3 separate regions of the Homo sapiens genome follow, and all the other regions are linked to region 2. Evidence: promoter capture Hi-C in human tissues and cell types (Jung and others, 2019). All regions are on one chromosome and are shown on one strand. Each heading gives the region's core, a stretch centred on a gene start or on the middle of the fragment in contact. The rest is flanking DNA. Distances are from core to core; before and after follow the strand shown.

The links. The method cuts DNA at HindIII sites, captures the fragments that hold promoters and counts their contacts. A contact is called where the count stands out against the background at its distance.
Region 1: a fragment that was not itself captured here is called in contact with the fragment with the promoter of TACO1 in region 2 in 1 of the 25 tissues and cell types used here (bladder).
Region 3: a fragment that was not itself captured here is called in contact with the fragment with the promoter of TACO1 in region 2 in 1 of the 25 tissues and cell types used here (ovary).

What each region holds. Positions count from the first base shown.
Region 1 is chr17:63,796,635-63,800,037 of GRCh38, reverse strand. DDX42 (DEAD-box helicase 42) reads right to left here. Exons shown (of 18, transcript NM_203499.3): 4 at 1,939-2,000; 5 at 413-449. Among named protein-coding and RNA genes, the nearest start is that of DDX42, 24 kb to the right of the region's middle. The HindIII fragment of the contact is 5,716 bases long and covers 1-3,403 here.
Region 2 is chr17:63,599,447-63,602,833 of GRCh38, reverse strand. TACO1 (translational activator of cytochrome c oxidase I) reads right to left here and starts at 1,939. Exons shown (of 5, transcript NM_016360.4): 1 at 1,471-1,939. The coding sequence starts at 1,750. The HindIII fragment of the contact is 17,557 bases long and covers 1-3,387 here.
Region 3 is chr17:63,747,120-63,750,510 of GRCh38, reverse strand. The region is part of intron 12 of CCDC47 (coiled-coil domain containing 47); the gene reads left to right. Among named protein-coding and RNA genes, the nearest start is that of STRADA, 7.0 kb to the right of the region's middle. The HindIII fragment of the contact is 4,620 bases long and covers 1-3,391 here.

The DNA.
Region 1 (3,403 bases), core at 171-2,670, 200 kb before region 2:
CTAATGGACAGTAATTAATGTTCCAGCTTGAAATACAAGAACCACAAACAGGACACTTACTAAGAGACAGAGGTTAGATGTTACCAGAGGCCATCAATAGATCCCACACTACTCTACCACTTGATTTATCAGAATAAACATTAATTTTGGATTTAAAAAGAAGCAAGCTGAATAAAGCTCGTATTTGCTTTGGATGTCACAGTTGATCAAAAATTCCATCTTCAATATGGGGGAAAGCCATGTGAATCTATGTATTACCAATTGGTCACACAGGTACAAAAGGAGCAAATCAAATGACATTCCCTGCTGAATGTCAGGAATGGCCATTTTGAGTGAAGGCAAGCTCTAGCTTGTCCCCAGTATAGACTTTGTGGATAAAAATAAAAGATAGAAATACTGCATAGGAACTCACTTGGTCATCTTCCTCTTCAATGTCATCTCGAATACCCCTGGAAAAACAAGCGGAGAAACAAACTTCCCTGCAAATGTTCCACATACCCAGCTCCATACTTACAGCAGATTAGTGTTGAATTCCACACAGCACAGGAACTCTCAACACTAATAATAACAAAGCAGCAATGAGCACACTATAAACTATCCACCCCATTATATATATGTGTAGCTGCACTCTATAATCTGCAGTTTGCATTTCTTTTAAATGGGATGATATGATACCCCTAGAAACAGCGGTTACCAACAAGGATATCAGACGTAAAAACTTTCTGAAGACAGATACCAAATGGTCCTAGTTTTGTGAATCCATACAACAAACAATGCGGTTGTGAAAAGTATTTCATACTAAAAAGAAAAAAAAAATCTTGTATTTGGCATATACTAGAAAGGTCACAACCTTCTTATTGTCCCCAAAGTTTCTAGCTCTAGGGTAAATGGTTTTCAGCCAAAAGCAGTTACCTTAGGGATGGGGACAGAGTGAAAACTACATTAACTCCTTTATGAGTTTGGGAATAAAACGCTTAAACAGTTCACATGGAGAAGGGGACCATCACCACTTGCTGTATGTCTCAGGAGCTATAGAGAAAATATGGTTGCTTAGTTCCCACAACCATCTGTTTCTAATCAGACTTTCTGCCTAACCTAGAGCGCTTGCTATTCCTAAGGCAACCGGCAAGCAACACCACCAGTGCAGGGCAGGTGGAAGGGGATATGACATACAGTGAATACCAAAACCACAGCTAAATCTCCATATGGAACAGAAACCCTGGTAAAGGACTGAAGCACTGACTGCCAAGCACAGGGAGAAAAAAGTCCAATCATGACTGGCAGAAAAAGCCTTAGGAGTTTATTCATCAAGGCAAAGAGACTTCTCTTTCCCAGAAAATAAAGTACTTCAAGTTCTGACTATGGCTGCTACAGCACAATGTCACTCTGGAGCTAAATAAAATTAGGTATTATTACAGCCCTCCTTATACACAGGTTTTTATACTGTGAATATTATTTTTCCACCTGTGTTGGTTGAAAAAAATCCCCATGAGTGGACTCACGCAGTTCAAACCTGTGTTGTTCAAAGGTTCAACTATACATAGTTTTCATGATACAGTTGCCATTACTTCTCATAATCAACCATATAGGCATAAACCTATTTTATATTAATTATGCGACAAACTCAGAACAATGAGCCTAAACTTTAATAATTATGCTCCCCTAAACTCTACTATAATTCATTCCTTGTGTTTACTAAACAACTATTTATAGTCAAAGACCAAATACTATTCTACCAAACTGAATGCTTTTTAATTATTGCAAATGCAAAGACTGTTGCCATCTCTATTCTTAAAGTATTCAAGATACAGGAATAACTTCAAGTAAAGTACACAAGTGTACGTCAATATTTTTTCTCTATAAACTTTGGGGGAATAGACTTTGCAATACTTCAGCAGTTTTCACGTAACCTTTGTGAGGGAGAAGAAAACAACTTACTTTACGTTTTTTCTTTCCTTGTCCTTTTCTTCAAGCCTCTTCATGTCTCTAGCTGCCTGATCCTAATGAAACAAAAGGCTGTATAGAATGACATCAACTAAAAACACTGAAAGAAACAATTTTTAGATTGGAACAAGTGCCATAATAGCTTTAGCTATGTATTTGACAAGTGCATTTTGATGCCATCAAATTGCATTTTGACAATTATTTTTCAAAGAGAAATAACTAAATGCTGTATAAATTGGCTGTATATGGACTGCACAATTTTATCTGTAATAATGTGCCACACATGGAAAAATGAACAAAAATGCTTGCTTCACAAATACATAACCTTAAGTTGCTTTAAGTTAATGATAAAATTACAGATATAAAGTGCTTTCAATTCAGGCAGATAGGCCTTCCTCAAAGTATAGCTTAAGACCACATACATCTGACTCTGGAAAGGTTGCTCTCAATCTGGGACAATTTTGCCCCTAGGCAACATCTGGCAATGTCTGGAGACATTTTTAATTTTGGGGGTGGTACAGCTGATAGTACTGGTTTCTAGAGGCGGAGGATGGCTACTAAACATTCTACAATACACAGGAAAGCCCCACAACAAATAATTATCCAGCGCCAAATGACAGTAGTCTCAAGGCTGAAAATTCTGTTCTACATCTACTAAATCAGAATCCTTGGGGCTGGAGTGAGTTAAATGTGTGTAGTTTTTACATTTTTCATAGGCAATTCTTTTTTTTTTTTTTTTTTGAGATGGAGTTTCGCTCTCGTTGCCCAGGCTGGAGTGCAATGGCACCATCTTGGCTCACCACAACCTCCTCCTCCCAGGTTCAAGCGATTCTCCTGCCTCAGCCTCCTGAGTAAGCTGGGATTACAGGTATGAGCCACCACATCCAGCTAATTTTGTATTTTTAGTAGAGACGGGGTTTCTCCATGTTGGTCAGGCTGGTCTCGAGCTCGTGACCTCAGGTGATCCACCGCGCCCGGCCTAGGCAATTTTTATATACTGCAAATTGATGATCACTGATCAAAATTAATCATTTGCATTATACATTTGAAAATCAAGGTCAGAAGAGTTAAATGATTTTTCCCAAGGCTTTATACACATTCTGCACAACTTTTTCTCACTATAAAGCACCGTGAGTTTTTCTGGCAATCTCAGATTTTTAAAAATGCCACTATATATACTGTGGCATGATCGGGTGTTCTATCAAACCAAATGTTCCTGATGAAGAGAAATTGTTTTAAAGAGAAGCAATGCATACAAACAACCTACTTTTCGGAGGACTGAACCAGCTATAAGATATATTTAAGACTATAAACTGAAGATGACATAAGCAATGTAACATAAGAAACAGGTCACCAAAAGTGGTAGAACATATTGTTTAAGCCTACATAAATCCTTTTTCAGAACACTGGCTAAAAATAAATCTTCATCTAGTTCAAGCACTAGAAAAGTTTATACTTT
Region 2 (3,387 bases), core at 690-3,189:
CTTCATTGGGATGCAGTGGCTGATACCTGCAATCCCAGCACTTTGGGAGGTGGAGGTGGGTAGATCATTTGAGGTCAGGAGTTCGAGACCAGCCTGGCCAACATGGTGAAACCCTGTCTCTATTAAAAATACAAAAAAATTTAGCCAGGCATGGTGGTGCACACTTGTAGTCCCAGCTACTCCGGAGGCTAAAGCAGGAGAATCACTTGAGCCTGGGAGGTGGAGGTTGCAATGGGCCAAGATCACGCCACTGCACTCTACCCTGGGTGACAGAGTGAGACTCTGTCTCAAAATAAATAAATAAATAAATAAATAAAAGTTGCTTGAACTTAATATCAAGAATTTTGAAGAAAAGGAAGCAAACAAATACCAGGCATGAGCTGAGGGGGTAAATTAACATTAACTGAATGCCTATGATGTGCCATAAACCATAAACTACCTCAAGGTGGGTATTATCCTTGTTTCAGAGAAACTCAAGTTAAGCTACTTGTTCAAGGTTAGTCAGTGACAGAAACCAGTCTTCCTGACTCCAAAGTCCACAGTTTCTCTCTCTTTTTTTTTTTTTTTTTTTGAGATGGAGTCTTGCTCTGTCACCCAGGCTGGATGGAGTACAGTAGAGCAATCTCGCTTACTGCAGCCTTCAACTCCTGGGTTCAAGCAATTCTCCTGCTTCAGCCTCCCGAGTAGCCAGCATTACAGGCATGCACCACCATGCCCAGCTGTTTTTTTTTTTTTTTTTTTTTGTTATTTTTAGTAGACACAGGGTTTCCCCATGTTGGCCAGGCTAGTCCTGAACTCCTGACCTCAAGTGATCTGCCTGCCTCTGGCCTGGGATTACAGGCTGTGCCACTGCGCCCAGTCCAAAGTCCATGCTTTCTACAGGACTTTTCCTTTGCTCCTACAGATGTCTGGCCCTAAACAGAAAAAAAGCCTTTTCAGTGTGGCGACCTAAGGGAGAAAAGACATGGCTGCAAATCTACCTTCCAAGGAAATGTGTCTTGGGGAAACATTAATGAAGCAAACTAAGGCCTAAGCTAAGGCCTAAGCACTTAAGTAATAGCTTTACTCAGTGCCCCTGCCACAACCAATAAGGTACTTGAGGCGACTTCAGAGGGGTTGATTTGTCTCTTCAGGAGAGACACACATCTGCCCTGACTCTTAGGGCTTGTTTCTATTAAGTACCCAGCTAGATTAGGATGAAGTCACTTCTACCTTACCGGCTTATCTTCTTAAGAGCAGCTCCCTCTCTGACAAACTGGCCAGATGCTCAGCGTCTGGAAAAGTGAGTGAGAACCTCCAACGTAGGGTAGGTGTTTTGAGGATTTATGAGGTGGGCAATGGTGGGTACTGGGGAAGGAAAACAAAGTGAAGGGCCGGAGATCTAGGTGGGCCCAATTCCGAGAGGCAAGCGAGGCTGCGGGCACTGAGAGGGCAGCGGCAGCCAGTGCTGGGTGACCGTCAGGGTCTCACCTTTCACTGCCAGGCGGATGTTCAAACAGAGTTTGGAGAAGATGCGACTCCTTTCGACGTCCTTCGGACCCTTGATGTGCCTGACTTTGGACCACTTGTTGTGCCCGGCGGGGACAGCCGCGGTAAAGTGCAGCGTCCTGCCCGGAGCGGCACCGCAGCCCCGGGGCTCGGGGTGGGAGGGCCGGGGGTCGCGCGGAGGAGCCGCCCTGACCCCGGGGCCTCGTGCCAGCAAGCATCGGGCAGCGGCCCTGCTTAGGCTGGCAGCAGCCCAAGCCGACATCGGTCCCGACCCTGGGGTTCAAGCTGCTAGCAGCAGCGGCCAACGCCGGCGCGTCTCTTCCACTGCCGGAACAAGCAGTTCCGGACCCCGCGGCCGCCTGTGCCGGTCACCTGAGATCCAAAGGCTTGGGCCCGCCCGGGGCGGCTCAACAGCTAATGACCCTACACTGTCCCCGCGGCACCCGGGACTGGGGGCCCTTGATGGCGTAGCACACTTCCTTTACCGGGTTCGCTCCAAAAACACGTCCCCACTGCCCGCAAAGTCCGTTCCGTGGCTGCACGGTACTCGCTCCTCTCTTGCCCTTGAGCAGATCTAGTTAGTGCTCAAGCCCTCACGGTTGCCTAGAGAGCGCCGGACTTTGTTTCTCATAATGTTTTAGTGGAGACACATCTGAGTTATGAAACTGACTTTGCTTCCAAATTGCTGCCTAAATCTGAGCAAGTCCAGAATGATATTTTGTTGTTGCCTCATTGTACTGGGAAAGAAACTGCTGCCAGAGAAGTGAATTGCCCAAATGTTTAATCTCTCTGAACGTCTTCCCTATTTATAAATAAGGATCTAATATTTGCTTTATCAACATAGGAAAGTTAGAAACACAAAATGAGCCCTTAGAGCTTTAAAGTAATAAAGTTTTATGTAAATAGCCACAGTGCACTTAAGCCCCTAGATGCAAGAGATGGTTTGGGACAGACTCAGATGAGTCACAGGCCTTTGGGAGAGGGAGAATGATCAGACAAGCCCTTTGGAGCTAAACTCCCCTCTTCATTTTCTCTCTGCTGTCTCGAAAGAGAAAACCGAATCCGTTAGAAGATGGAGAGAAACAAAGCGGCAGCTGCTGAAAAGCTTTGTAGTGACTCCCATGCTGGTGAGATTAAGTCCAAAGGGCATGACATATCAGGTAGAGAAGCAGGACAGCCGGGCGCGGTGGCTCACGCCTGTAATCCCAGCACTTTGGGAGGCTGAGGCAGACGGATCGCTAGGTCAGGAGTGCCAGACCAGTCTGACCAACATGGTGAAACCCCGTCTCTACTAAAAATACAAAAAAATTAGCCGGCCGTGGTGGCGCGCGCCTGTAATGCCAGCTACTCAGAAGGATGAGGCAGGAGAATCGCTTGAACCCGGGAAGAGGAGGTTGCAGTGAGCCGAGATCGCGCCACTGCACTCCAGCCTGTGCGACAGAGCGAGAATCCAACTCAAAAAAAAAAAAAAAAAAGAGAGAGAGAGAGAGAGAGAAGCAGGACAGTGTGAAGTCCAAGTTTGTGCCCTCTGCAGTTAGACTGGGTGGCTTCAAACCCTGGTTGTTCCATTTTCTAGTGTATCCTTGGGCAAGTTCCTTTACTTTCCTGTTTCAGTTTCCTTACCATAGAATGGCCTTGTGAGGACTAAATGGGATAATGGATGCAAAGCACAAAAGCATAGATTTTTTATTTTTTATTATATAAGAACCTCCATGGGGCTGGGTGCGGTGGCTCACGCCTGTAATCCTAGCACTTTGGGAGGCCGAGGCTGGCAGATCACTTGAGGTCAGGAGTTCAAGACCAGCCTGGTCAACATGGTGAAACCCCGTCTCTACTAAAAATACAAAAATTAGCCAGGTGCGGTGGGTGCCCATAGCCCTTCATACATGCTTGCACCTT
Region 3 (3,391 bases), core at 763-3,262, 150 kb before region 2:
GGGGTCACGTGTCCAAGAAAATGTGAGCTGCTGTGCGGGCCTGCATTTGACAGCAGTGTCATTAATGCTGTTGAGTGAACTGCCCAGGATACTGCAGGCCTGTCATCATCATCTTACCCCTTTTATCATTTTTTTGTTTTATTTGACTTGGTTTAGTGATAGGTATTTTTCCCCTGAAAATGTAGCTCTGTGTTTATGCAGTCTTCTTTATAAATAAATATGGCTTTTTATGTACATGTGAAGAATCTACAGAGGAATCATTAATAGGTAATGCCTTTCATTTTTCTATAAAAGGAAGTTCTACATTTCTTTCTAAGGTTTGAAACTATAATGAGTTAAAGGAAGAGGGGGCCTGAAACTTAACCTGAGTCAGATTGTAAGCTTCTTGTCGATGTAAATCATTTAATTTTTTTGAACTACCACTTTATAGTATCTGGTCTGGGCACCTTGTAAAAAGATCTGGTGAACTCAATAGAACAACCCACCCAACCCCCTCTACCAGTATATGATATGAAAGCTCCTTTTTTTCTTTTAATTTATTTTTATTTTTATTTTTGAGACAGGGTCTCACTCTGTTGCCCAGGCTAGAGTACAGTGGCAAAATCGTAGCTCGCTGCAGCTTCGAACTCCTGGGCTCAAGCCATCCTCCCGCTTCGGCCTCCCAATATGCTGGGAATACAGGTGTGAGCCACTGTGCCCAGCCAGAGAGCTCCTCTTCACTCACATCTTTTCAAAAACTAGTTATTAATTTTTTTTTTTTTTTGAGACAGAGTCTCGCTCTTTCACCAGGCTGGAGTGCAGTGGCGCGATCTCAGCTCGCTGCAGCCTCCACCTCCCGGGTTCAAGCGATTCTTCTGCCTCAGCCTCCCTAGTAGCTGGGACTACAGGCACATGCCACCATGCTCAGCTAATTTTTGTATTTTTAGTAGAGATGGGGTTTCACCATGTTCAGGATAGTTTCAATCTCTTGACCTCGTGATCCGCCTGCTTCAGCCTCCCAAAGTGCTGGGATTACAGGCGTGAGCCACCGTGCCAGGTCTTTTTTTTTTTTTTTTTTCCTTATTCTGGTAGTGGGGAAATGGTATCCCACTTGTTTTGTTTTGTTTTGTTTTGTTTGAGACATAGTCTTGCTGTGTTGCCCAGGCAGAGTGCAATGGCATGATCTCAGCTTACTGCAACCTCTGCCTCCTGGGTTCAAGCGATTCTCCTGCCTCAGCTGGGATTACAGGTGCCTGCCTCCATGCCCGGCTAATTTTTGTATTTTTTAGTAGAAATGGGGTTTCACCATGTTGGTCAGGCTGGTCTCGAACTCCTGATCTCAGGTGATCCACCCACCTCGGCCTCTCAAAGTGCTGGGATTACAGGCGTGAGCCACTACGCCCAGCTATTTTTTGAATTATTATTTGAAGTTGAACATTTTTCATGTGTATTGACTTAACATAAATATCTCTTAAATGTGCTAGCATAAATATATTTATCTTTTTTTTTTTTTTTTCTTTGAGACAAACTCACTCTGTCGCCCAGGCTGGAATGCAGTGGCACAATCTTGGCTCACTGCAACCTCCGCCTCCCAGGTTCAAGTGATTCTCGTGCCTCAGCCTCCCAAGTAGCTGGGATTACAGGTGCCCGCCACCACACCTGGCTAATTTTTGTATTTTTAGTAGAGATGAGGTTTCACCACATTGGCCAGGCTGATCTTGAACTCCTGATCTCTCAAGTAATCCACCCACCTCAGCCTCCCAAAGTGTAGGCGAGGTTTCACCACATTAGCCAGGCTGGTCTCGAACTCCTGACCTCTCAAGTGGCCCACCAGCCTCAGCCACTGCGCCCGGCCAATATTTCTTATACATGATATTGTATTCTGTGTATCATTAGTTTTACACATGTGTGTAATATGTAATATGGGAGATAGGGATAGATAGTGCTGGGAAAAGAGTGAATGTGGTGAAGGTAGGGGTTGGGACAATGGGAAGAGGACATTGGGATCGAACCTGGGAGGCAGAGGTTGCAGTGAGTCGGGATTGCGCCATTGCACTCCAGCCTGGGGAACAAGAGCGAAACTCCACCTCAAAAAAAAATTGAAAAGAAACCTAAGATAGGCCGGGCGCGGTGGCTCATGCCTATAATCCTAACACTTTGGGAGGCCGAGGCAGGTAGATCACTTGAGGTCAGGAGTTCAACACCAGCCTGGCCAATATGGTGAAACCCCATCTCTACTAAGAATACAAAAATTAGCTGGGCATGATGGCACACACCTGTAATCCCACCTACTCCGGGGGCTGAGGCAGGAGAGTCATCCCAGGCAACAGAGCAAGAATTCTGTCTCAAAAACAAACACAAACAAAAAAAAAAACCTGGCCAGGCACATTGGCTCACGCCTGTAATCCCAGCACGTTGGGAGGCCATAGTCGGTGAATTGCCTGAGGTCAGGAGTTTGAGACCAGCCTGGCCAACATGGTGAAACCCCGTCTCTGCTAAAAATACAAAAATCAGCTGGGTGTGGTGGCACATGCCTGTAATCCCAGCTACTCGGGAGGCTAAGGCAGGAGAATGGCTTGAACCCGGAAGGCAGAGGCTACAATGACCCGAGATTGTGCCACTGCACTCCAGCCTGGGTGACACAGCAAGACCCTATCTCAAAAAAAAATAAAGAAAAAACCTAAGACAGTCAATAGTTCCCAAACCAGGAATTTACAAATCACCCTTTGAAACCTAATTTGTTGCACTATGAAGAACTATATATGCTTTGCACTTCTTCTTTTCTTCCCTATTTTCTCCATCCTGTACCAGTTGAGTATATTTCTGAGCACATTTTTACCCCAGTACCCTAAAAATAAGAAGTTTGAGATTGTAGCTGAAATAAACTTTTAATCAGGTGTGACCACTAGTGGCCAACAGTGAAGTCATACTTTGACTTGACCTCTAAGGCTTCTATCAGTCCACGTAATAATAACCTGAACCTTCTTACTCTTCTATGTAACTTCCTAATTCCTAAATAAAAATATGATAAATTTGATAATTTTTATCACATTTGATAAATATGATGTCTCAAATAGAGCATTATGAATTTAAGTATTATGTGCAGGTATGGTGTCTGTGCTAATAAGAAATTTGCAATGAATAACCTGATGGAACAAGATTCTTAAAATTTATTGAACTGAAGTAGAATGTATCTTCTGGCAGTTATACATTTATGATATAATGCCATCATGAATGGTATGGTGAACATCAGGCTAAGTGTTCCCTGGGTACAGAAAAAAATCAAACCAGAATAACAAAGGCTGGTTAATTATAGTAGTTTCTTTCAAAACTGAGATTTTAGTTTACCTTTGCTTCATTTGAAGTTGATTTAATTTTTATTCACTAATGTAGATATTGGCAATTATTTTTA